3 separate regions of the Homo sapiens genome follow, and regions 2 and 3 are each linked to region 1. The links are contacts of gene promoters, found by promoter capture Hi-C in human tissues and cell types (Jung and others, 2019). All regions are on one chromosome and are shown on one strand. The core of a region is centred on a gene start or on the middle of the fragment in contact, and the rest is flanking DNA. Distances in the headings are between cores, read along the strand shown. Region 1 holds the start of RBM39 (RNA binding motif protein 39). Region 2 overlaps PHF20 (PHD finger protein 20). Region 3 overlaps PHF20 (PHD finger protein 20).

What was found. Contacts are between HindIII fragments. The study calls those that stand out against the background at their distance.
Region 2: a contact is called between a fragment that was not itself captured here and the fragment with the promoter of RBM39 in region 1, in 1 of the 25 tissues and cell types used here (bladder).
Region 3: a fragment that was not itself captured here is called in contact with the fragment with the promoter of RBM39 in region 1 in 5 of the 25 tissues and cell types used here (heart right ventricle, mesenchymal stem cells, pancreas and 2 more).

What each region holds. Positions count from the first base shown.
Region 1 is chr20:35,740,339-35,744,057 of GRCh38, reverse strand. RBM39 (RNA binding motif protein 39) reads left to right here and starts at 1,798. Exons shown (of 17, transcript NM_184234.3): 1 at 1,798-2,117; 2 at 3,171-3,234. The coding sequence starts at 3,184. RefSeq lists enhancers at 1,359-1,458, 1,629-1,848, 1,210-1,895, 1,909-2,058 and a silencer at 2,319-2,418. The HindIII fragment of the contact is 31,582 bases long and covers 1-3,719 here.
Region 2 is chr20:35,908,310-35,911,595 of GRCh38, reverse strand. The region is part of intron 10 of PHF20 (PHD finger protein 20); the gene reads right to left. Among named protein-coding and RNA genes, the nearest start is that of SCAND1, 45 kb to the left of the region's middle. The HindIII fragment of the contact is 7,158 bases long and covers 1-3,286 here.
Region 3 is chr20:35,942,382-35,945,767 of GRCh38, reverse strand. All of the region lies in intron 17 of PHF20 (PHD finger protein 20), which reads right to left. Among named protein-coding and RNA genes, the nearest start is that of SCAND1, 10 kb to the left of the region's middle. The HindIII fragment of the contact is 3,743 bases long and covers 1-3,386 here.

The sequences.
Region 1 (3,719 bases), core at 549-3,048:
CACCCAGGCTGGAGTGCAATGGCATGATCTCAGCTCACTGCAACCTCTGCCTCCCAGGTTCAAGTGATTCTCCTGCCTCAGCCTCCCGAGTAGCTGGGAATTGCAGGCGCCTGCCACCTAGTTTTTTTTTTATTTTTAGTAGAGACAGGGTTTCGCCATGTTGGTCAGGTCTTGAACTCCTGACCTCAGGCGGTCCACCCGCGTCGGCCTCCCAAAGTGCTGGGATTAGATGCATGAGCCACTGCGCCCAGCCTCCAGAGCGAGACTGTCTCAGAAATAAAATAAAAAGAGGATCTGAATTTTCAGAAAAAGGATTAAGGGAGTATTCTAACTACAAAATAACTGTTATTAATAATCCTCTAAGATAAATCCTAACCTGTGTGTAAAGTTAACCTGAGAGGCAAAACCACTTAACATCTATATTTGCTCTAAATAATTTTGTTTAGCAGAAACAGAAGTTAGCTGTTTTGAAGATCAAATATTTACCAGGCGTTTTACAGACATTATATCATTTAATCTTCACTATAGCCCTTCTGAGCCTTCATTCATTAATTTACTGAGGGTCCACTTGGGCAGACATGCCCTGCTAACCTCTAAAAATTCAGTACTGAGCATTACCTGCCTTCCTCAGTCTCAAGTAGCTTAGACTAGCTACTAAGTACGTCCTCTTTTAAATCAGGAAATGAAAGATCCCCTCTGAGAGGTTAATTTGCTTGTCCAAGGTCACACAGTGTTGCAGCAGCTAGTTACACTAATCAAGGCGTCTCATTTCCAATCTTTTCTGCCCTCAATCATTAGACTGTTAAGATTAGAGGGTAAGATTTTTGCTTTGAAGACTTCTTTCCAGTTTTTTTTCCCAGCATCTAGGAGGAAACCTCACACAGTACTGACCAAAGAACAAATGGCTAATTCATACTCTAATTACCTGGCATCTAGAAGACTTCAGGGGAGAGGAGCCAGGTCCCAGGGGGAAGGGGGCCTTTTTTTTTTTGTTGGGGGGGTGTCTTATTTTTTCACCAAATCGTCCAGTAATATTCAGGAAGGGGAACATTTTTGAAGGAACGGTAGCAACCCTGACACAAGAGCTGATTAAATTCGGGGCACAAAACTGATCCCATGCCAAGGGAAGCAAGAGTTTATTTTTTCCACCTTTTTTTTGCTTTTCTCCACTATTTCCAAGGTTGTTTCAAAGCTCGACAGTGGAGGCCGCGCCATTGGCTCCAAATGACAGGGAAATCTATTTTTATTATCTCCCCCTCTCCCCCTACCCCTAAAGATCTCTTCTTCTGGCCTTCTGATACACTTTTCCACTTCCTCTCCACCCTCAGCGGATAATCTGAATATGGCCGTTTTATCCTATCGCCATAAGGACTAGGTTGCCTTATGGCGACCTTGACAGCCATCTGTGTGGGAGGCCGGAGCGGGGGCGATCGGCTGTGCCGGAGGAATCTTCAGATGGCCGTGAGGAGGCGCCACGAGGGGGAGGTGACCGCTGAGCTCCACTCAGCGAAGAGCTCTCTGAAAGATTGACAGGCAGCCTACCAACTGTCTTTGCCCTAGAGACCCGCTCTGTCTCGCGAGATTTGGGTGCTTACGCGGAGGGGGAGTGAAAGGCGCCTCACTGAATGGGGGATGGGAATATCTGTGGCGCAATCATTGCGCGAGATTGGGCTACGGTCGCCGGAGCCATACTTAGGTCTCGCGATACTTCGGCCGCTCAAATTTGGAGCTTGGGGCAGCTTCTCGCGAGAGCCCGTGCTGAGGGCTCTGTGAGGCCCCGTGTGTTTGTGTGTGTGTATGTGTGCTGGTGAATGTGAGTACAGGGAAGCAGCGGCCGCCATTTCAGGGAGCTTGTCGACGCTGTCGCAGGGGTGGATCCTGAGCTGCCGAAGCCGCCGTCCTGCTCTCCCGCGTGGGCTTCTCTAATTCCATTGTTTTTTTTAGATTCTCTCGGGCCTAGCCGTCCTTGGAACCCGATATTCGGGCTGGGCGGTTCCGCGGCCTGGGCCTAGGGGCTTAACAGTAGCAACAGAAGCGGCGGCGGCGGCAGCAGCAGCAGCAGCAGCAGCAATCTCTTCCCGAACACGAGCACCACAGGCGCCCGAAGGCCGGAACAGGTACGGGGCGTTGCGGACCCGCGTATTATCTCAGCTTTCTCGAGGTTTGGCTCCATTTTGGGCTGAGGGGCGCTTTTGGAGGTCTTTAGCGACCGGGGTGGGGGGTGGTTTTCGAGAAATCGGCCCTGTTTCAGTGACCGCGCCCTTATTTTCCAGTCGGGTATAGTCTGGATTCTTGGGGCGGTAGGGACCCCCGAGAGGCCGCGGTAGAATGGTGACCTGTCTCCTTCGAGGCCTGGGCCGGCCGCGACCTCCCAACATGGCGCCAGTTGAACGCTGCCTTGGCTCATAACCCCTCCCAATGGAGGGAGTTTCTCTTTGCCCCTAAAATGGCAGCGCGGGTTTTTGCCCGGAAAGAGGCGCTCTCGTTCGGGTCTCCCAGTTTCTGTTTTTGGAGTTGACAGCAGAGTTTTAAATATTGGATATTGAAGTCTTCATTTTCGTGTGTTTCGTGTAAGAGGCGTTTTGGATTTACTTACGTAAGCCAAACCTGGTTAAAGTGCATGTCACTTTAGTCATTAATTGTAGGGCTTTTGGAGGTTTTTCTTAAGTTTTCGAGTGTGTCGGCTGAGAAGAAAAATTCAGTCGATTTGAAAAACGTTTACCAGGCCGGGCGCGGTGGCTCACGCCTGTAATCCCAGCAGTTTGGGAGGCAGAGGCAGGCGGATCACTTGAGGTTAGGAGTTCGAGACCAACCTCATCAACATGGTGAAACCCCGTCTCTACCAAAAATACAAAAATTAGCCGGGCGTGGTGGCAGGCGCCTGTGATCCCAGCTATTCGGGAGGTGAGGTGGTAGGATCGCTGGAACCTGGGAGGCGGAGCTTGCAGTGAGCCGAGATCGCGCTACTGCACTTCAGCCTGGGCAACTAGAGCGAAACTCCGTCTCAAAAAAAAAAAAAAAAAAAAAGAAAAATGTTTACTCACGGAATCGTCTTGTTCTTTTCCTAGGCGTTTAGAGAAAATGTTAGACGATATAGGCAACAAGAGTGAAACTTGTTTCACATTGTAAGAGAAATGTTTACTCAAGAAATTGTCTTGTTCTCTTCCTAGGCGTTTAGAGAAAATGGCAGACGATATTGATATTGAAGCAATGCTTGAGGCTCCTTACAAGAAGGTGAGAAAAAACATGTCGGTGAGGTTTATATATTTCTTAATTTAGCATTATTCACGAAACTACTGCTGAAATGTAAACTAACCTCCCCGGAGCCCTCTTGATTTATCTTATCAGAGATGCATTACGTGTAACTTACAAAAGTAAATATATGCTATTGATGTAATAATATTGTGCAGTAGTTTCACTTCAGCGTGATGAATAAATGCCCATCTATCTCTCTTTGTAGACTTGCCTAACGATATCTCACCTCTACTCCCATGAATTCACCTTTGATTCCAGTGTGAACTGTCAATCATAAGGTAGTAATTGAGTGACTTATCGCTGTACCGTGGTCCCCTAGGTAAAATGACTCAACTAAGAATTACCACCTCCAGTTTGGTATAGCAAAAAGGTGAATGTAGTGGTTTGGGAAAAAGCAGGGGTCCAAGAATAACAAAGCATGACCAGTCTGTGGCAAGTTAAATCTTCTAACAGTCTTATAAGAA
Region 2 (3,286 bases), core at 487-2,986, 170 kb before region 1:
CCTTACTTTTTAGATATCAACAAGAGTTTATACGTACATATATCCTATGACCTTGCCATCCACTACAACATATTCATTCAAGAGAAAGCATCACTTACGTCCACATAGAGACTTATACATGAAGACTCATAGCAGTTTTAGTTGTAATCGCCCCAAACTGAAAACTGCCCAAATGTCCATCAAGTGAATGTACAAATAATTCATGATGTATCCACACAATGGAAGACTTTTCAGCAATAAAGGTAGGAACAGCAGGCCGGGCGCAGTGGCTCATGCCGGTAATCCCAGCACTTTGGGAGGCCAAGGCGGGCGGATCACGAGGTCAGGAGATTGAGACCATCCTGGCTAACATGGTAAAACCCTGTCTCTACTAAAAATACAGAAAAAATTAGCCGGGCGTGGTAGCGGGCGCCTGTAGTCCCAGCTACTGGGGAGGCTGAGGCAGGAGAATGGCGTGAACCCAGGAGGCGGAGCTTGCAGTGAGCTGAGGTCTGGCCACTGCACTCCAGCCTGGGCGACAGTGCAAGACTCCGTCTCAAAAAATAAAAATAGAAAAAAAGGTACGAACAGCAACATAAGTGAATCTCAAAGTATGCTGGGTGAAAGGAGCCAGACAAAACAAGTGCGCACTGCAGGATTCCATTTCTACAATAGTCTGCAAAATGAAAACAAACCATCTGGGCATGCTGGCTCACTCCCAGCACTTTGGGAGGCCAAGGTAGGCAGATCAGCTGGGGTCAGGAGTTCAAGACCAGCATGACCAATACGATAAAACCCCATCTGTACTAAAAATACAAAAATTAGCTGGGTGTGGTGGCTCATGCCTGTAATCCCAGCTACTTGGGAGGCTGAGGCAGGAGAATCGCTTGAGCCCAGGAGGCAGAGGTTGTAGTGAGTTGAGATCGTGCCACTTCACTCCAGCCTGGGCAACACAGCGACTCCATCTCGGGGGGGAAGAAAAAAGAGAGAAAACACACCACAAGTAACAGTAAGCAGAATAGTGGTTGCCTGGAGCTCAGGGGGAGGGGAGAGGTGGGAAGGAGGAACTAAAAAGGGGCATGAGGAAAGTTTGGGAGGGAATGGAATATGTTTACTATCTTGATTGTGGTGATAGTTGGGTATAAACATATGTCAAATCTCACCAATTATACCATTTAAATATGTGTAGTTCATTGTACAATTAAGTCTCGATACAGCTGTAAAGAAAAACAACCAATTCAGTTGCATTTAGTACATTCACAATGTTGTACGACCACTTTGATATAGTTCTAAGAACATTTCCATCACTCCAAAGTAAAACCCTTTACCATTAAGCAGCATTTCCCCTCCCCTAAGCCCTTCCCCTCAGCCCCACCAACCTGCATCTGACTCCATGGGCTTATCTACTCTGGATATCTCATAAATATGGAACCATACAATATGTGACCTTTTGTGTCTGGTTTCTTTCATTTAGCATGATGTTTTCAAGGATATCAGGATTTTTAAAACTTTCCAAGTGATTCTGATATGGAATCAAGATATCCACAAAGCAGGTGTGAGGCAGGGTAGACAATCAGATTCCATTTTAACTAAGCACTTGTGTGCAAGGAAACCACAAATATCTCATTTAATCCTTACAACAACTTGTGTGTATATCATTCCCATTTTACAGGCCGGGAAACTGAAGCTCAGAGAGGTGAAATCACCCACCTGACATCACATAGGTATTTAAAAGCAAATTGGTCTGACTCTCCAGCACCATGTCTCCTCTGCAACCCAGGCCCCTCTCCCAAATTAGCACTTGGTAACCATCAGAAAGGAAGAGTGGGCTGTGCCTACTGGCTGGCAAGCCTGGAATCTATAGGCAGAGTTGATCTACTGGCTAGAGAACATAGGACTTAAGGGTATTTGAGCTCCTTAACTTTTAAAATACCCTGCAACTAGAAAGAAAGTCAACAAACATGAAAGCTGGAGAGAACTTAGACCAATTTGTAAAAGCACTCATTTTTAAAACCAAAAACCCAAGGCCCAAAGACAGCAGACTGGCAAAACATGGTCAGATGCCTTCTGAATTTCAAAAAAGCTATCAGTCATTTTTACTTTTCATTGATCCTGAGAACAGGGTCTTCCCCAAACATAAAAACAAAACTCATTTTTACACAGTTTGACTACCACCGTATTATTAGCCATGGTTTCAATTCATTTAGGCAACAGATACCATGCATATACTATGTTCCAGGCACATTCTAGGGAGGAGGGATATTGCAATGAACAAAGACAGATAACACCCCCTGTCCCTCACAGAGCTACATTCTATTCAGTTGGTGCAAAAGAATTGCTGTTTTTGCCACTGAAAGTCACAGCAAAAACCACAATTACTTTTGCACCAACCTAAAAAGCTGATGGGGCAGCAAACTATGAATAGGAGGGAATTTCCTCAACTGGATAAAGAACTTCTTTGCAGCCAACTTCATACTTAATGGTAAGAAATTGGATGCTTTCCCCTTAAGATCAGGAACAAAGCAAGGTGCCTCTCTCTCTACTCCTATTCAACATTTTACTGGAAATCTTAGCGAGTGGAATAAGCCAGAAAAGGAAATAAAAGCTCTACAGATTGAAATGGAAGAAATAACACTATCTTTGTTTGCAGATGATCTGTCTATGTAGAATATCCCAAAGAATTGATCAAAACAAAGACTGCCAGAACAGCACTTACAGCAAGGTTACAAGACACAAAGTTAATATACAACAATCTATTGCTTTTCTATATGCCAGCAATGAATAACTGGAATTTGAAATAAAGAAATAGCAAGGAGATCTGTATGGCTCCAATGGAACTGAAATTAGAATTAGGTTGAGTAAGGGAAAGAAGCAGATGGAGGCTAGCAGCAGAACATGATGAAGGGCCCTGTGAGGAAGTTGGCTTTTACTATGAGTGATTTAGGGAGCCACTGGAAGGATCTCAGCAAAGGAGGGATATTATCTGTTGTACCTTCACCCACACTCCTCCACAACACACACACAGACTGCTCCCTGATCCAGTTTTTATTTGTAAATTCAGGTTTTAGTGACCTCCAACTAAAGTAATTATACCCATCAGCTTAGTGAAATGCTAACAGAATTTATCTTGTCAGCAGCAGAACTGCCTGAAGCAGCAACATAATCTAGGTCCTAAATCCTTGAGACAGAGAGGGCAAGATGTAGAGGAAAACTGCCCAATGCTAGGGCATACCTGGTTATCTGGCTAAAGATAGTGGTCATTTGTAAACTCCAGTGGCAGAACTTGCAGGCCCTAGAAAAGACACAG
Region 3 (3,386 bases), core at 558-3,057, 200 kb before region 1:
CTTCCCTAAGCTACCCCCTAAAGCTCTGGCATTTGGGGAGAGACCATCTGGGAACCCTGCACCTTTGACAAGAACCACCCCCTGCAGGTAGCCCCTGTGCTATCCCAGCCTGCCTGTAGCCTTTCTAGTCCATGCACCAACCTGTACTGAGCACCTTCTGGACCCTGGAGTGCAGCAAAAGAAAGGCCCACCCAGTACCTCTTCATCAAGCAGCCTGCAACCTACTGCGCAATCCTCTCCTGTCCTCAGATGCAGCCCTACCTTCCTCTCCACCTTTCTAAATCCTCTGTTTCTTGTGAGCTATTCTTTAGGGAAGCCTTCCCCAACCCTATACCCTGAATCTGGTCCTTGTGTTACAGGTGCTATGATATCACATGTTCTCCTTTGAGCATTTACTATGGTTTGTCATTACAGGTAATGGGATGATTTGTTTAATATATGTCTCTCCCACTAGATCAAGTTCCACGAGGGCAAAGGCTGAGTCTGCCTTGCTTGCCACTATATCCCTAACACTCACCTGTGTCTGAAATGTGGCAAGCCTGCAACAAACACAGCGAGAGAAGGAATGTGTGGTCCAGCAAAGCGCCCTACCCATTGCTCTGGGCCCTATGTAGTTTATCCTCCTCCATCATATTTCTTGTTGGTATTTGGGGGTTCCAAGAAGGAGGAACCCTCTCTCTTCCTAATTCCAGCAAGTACAAGGACTTGGAAATAAGAAAAATAAGACCACCTCCTCAGACTTAAGCTTGAAAACCATTAGTAAAAGATCAGTCATGTGAGAGGAACTAGTGGCCTGCTGAGCAAGAAAACTGGATAGTGACCAGTTTCAAAACACCAGTAAGTCTTTAAAAAAAACTAGAAGGAGACAGGGGACTGTTCAGCAAACAGGCAGAAGAATAAATGGAGAGGCCGGACGTGCACGCCTGTAATCCCAACACCTTGGGAGGTCAAGGGAGGTGGATCACCTGAGGTCAGAAATTCAAGACAAGCCTGGCCAACATGGTGAAACCCCATCTCTATTAAAAATACAAAATCAGCCAGGTGTGGTGGCAGGCATCTGCCTGCTACTTGGGAGGCTGAGGAAGGAAGAGTCGCTTAAACCTGGGAGGCAGAGGCTTCAGTAAGCCGAGATCATGCCACTGTACTCCAGCCTGGGCGAGAAAGAGCAAGACTCCGTCTTAAAAAAATAAAATAAAATAAAAATAAATAAATGGACAAAAGGCAGTCAGGACTGGATGGGTCACTCCAACAGCAAAGAGAGTCAGTCAATCTTTTGCAAGATGATCCTACAGTTGCTGAGAGGCCCCTCTTAAGGTCACCCTAACTACCTTGGATCTAGTTCCAGGCTCACCAAAGACATCCCGATACTACGGTGGCCCAGGAGGCATGCACAGTGTGAAAGCGCACCAACGCTCAGACTGGAAGAGTCTAAGCCACTCAGTAGTGCCTGAGCTTGGTTAACAGGAGTGTGTGGAGTTCCTGAGATGGAAGCTGTCTGTCTAGGTCTGTTAGGCTGAAGAACAAAGCCAGGACTGTGGGAAGTCAACAGCATCTCCTCTGGACCCCAGCATCCAGCAGGCCACCCTCTCCATACCATGTGCTGCACCATCCCAAGTGTCTCTTTTAAAGATGCAGAACAGCTTCCAACTAGCATAGTGGTTGCTAGCAAGACAGAAGGTTACAGAGGAAAAAATTCTGTTCAAATACACTAAGATCATGTGTATAGAGACCACTGCTCACCAAGGCAACATTTTTTATTTAAGAAAATAATCTCTCTAATGCCAAAAGACTTTTTTACTTTTCATGGTCATTAAATATCCTTTGTCTTTTAGTTTTAAAGTACTGTTCAGGCTGGGTGCAGTGGCTCACACCTGTAATCCCAGCACTTTGGGAGCCCGAGGCAGGCAGATCATGAGGTCAGGAGATCGAGACCAGCCTGGCCAACATAGTGAAACCCCGTCTCTATTAAAAATACAAAAATTAGCCAGGCATGGCGGTGTGCACCTATAATCCCAGCTACTCGGGAGGCTGAAGCAGGAGAATTGCTTGAAGCCAGGAGGTGGAGGTTGTGGTGAGCCGAGATCGTGCCACTGCACTCCAGCCTGGGCAACAGACCGAGACTCCGTCTCAAAAATAAATAAATAAATAAATAAATAAAGTACTATTCATATAACTACATAAATAATTAAATAATGGCCAATTGTAAAACAATGGCATATATATATATATATTTCATATAATAGCTTACTAGGCTTTTTTTTTTTTTTTTTTAAAGAAATGGGGTCTTGCTCTGTCACCCAGGCTGGAGTACAGTGACACGATCATAGCTCACTGTAACCTTGAACTCCTTGGCCTCCCAAAGCACTGGGATTACAAGTGTGAGCCACCACGCCAGGTCAGCTTTTAAATTTTTTTAAATTTTTTATTTTCAGACTGAGTCTCACTCTGTTGCCCAGTCTGGAGTGCAGTGATATGATCTCAGCTCACTGCAACCTCCGCCTCCTAGATTCTGCTGCTTCAGCCTCCCAAGTAGCTAGGATTATACGTGTGCACCACCACACCCAGCTAAGCAGGCCGGCTTTTTAAAAAAGGAATGTTACATCCAAATTCCTATTTTAAAACTTGGTTATGAAAGCTTAGTTTAGGGCTGGGTACGGTGGCTCACGTCTATAATCCCAGCACTTTGGGAGGCCAAGGTGGGCGGATCATGAGGTCAGGAGATCGAGACCATCCTGGCTAACACAGTGAAACCCTGTCTCTACTAAAAATATAAAAAATTAGCCGGGCCTGGTGGCGGGCACCTGTAGTCCCAGCTACGCGGGAGGCTGAGGCAGGAGAATGGCGTGAACCCGGGAGGCGGAGCTTGCAGTGAGCTGAGATGGCACCACTGCACTCCAGCCCGGGCAACAGAGCGAGACTCCATCTCAAAAAAAAAAGAAAGAAAGAAAGCTTAGTTTATCTTGGTGTTTAAATAAAGAGTTGATTCCATAAAAAGGGATTTTGATTAATCTTAAATACTATGCAAAAGTCTGTTTACCTAAATAAAATCTTTAAGCTTTATCATTTATTTTAATGCTTTCTTGTTATCTCTCTCAGGGCCTAGAGTCTTAGAAATGTACAGAATATGTGGCTCTGAATTAGCAAGACACACAAGAGGTCATCTGTGAGGCCAAAGAAGGGGGTTCAGGCCTACCATCCTTGCCACACTGCCCATTCGGCAGGGCTAGAGAGGCCAAACCTGGCTGAAGAGAGGATTAAGGAAGTAAGATGTGAGTAGACTTTAACTTCTCCCTCAGGGAAGGTCCCTGTGGCAACAACCGAACATTCACCCTGTTTCCATGGTGCTAATCCTCTTTTCAGGGACTACAGAGCCACTCCTACTGCCA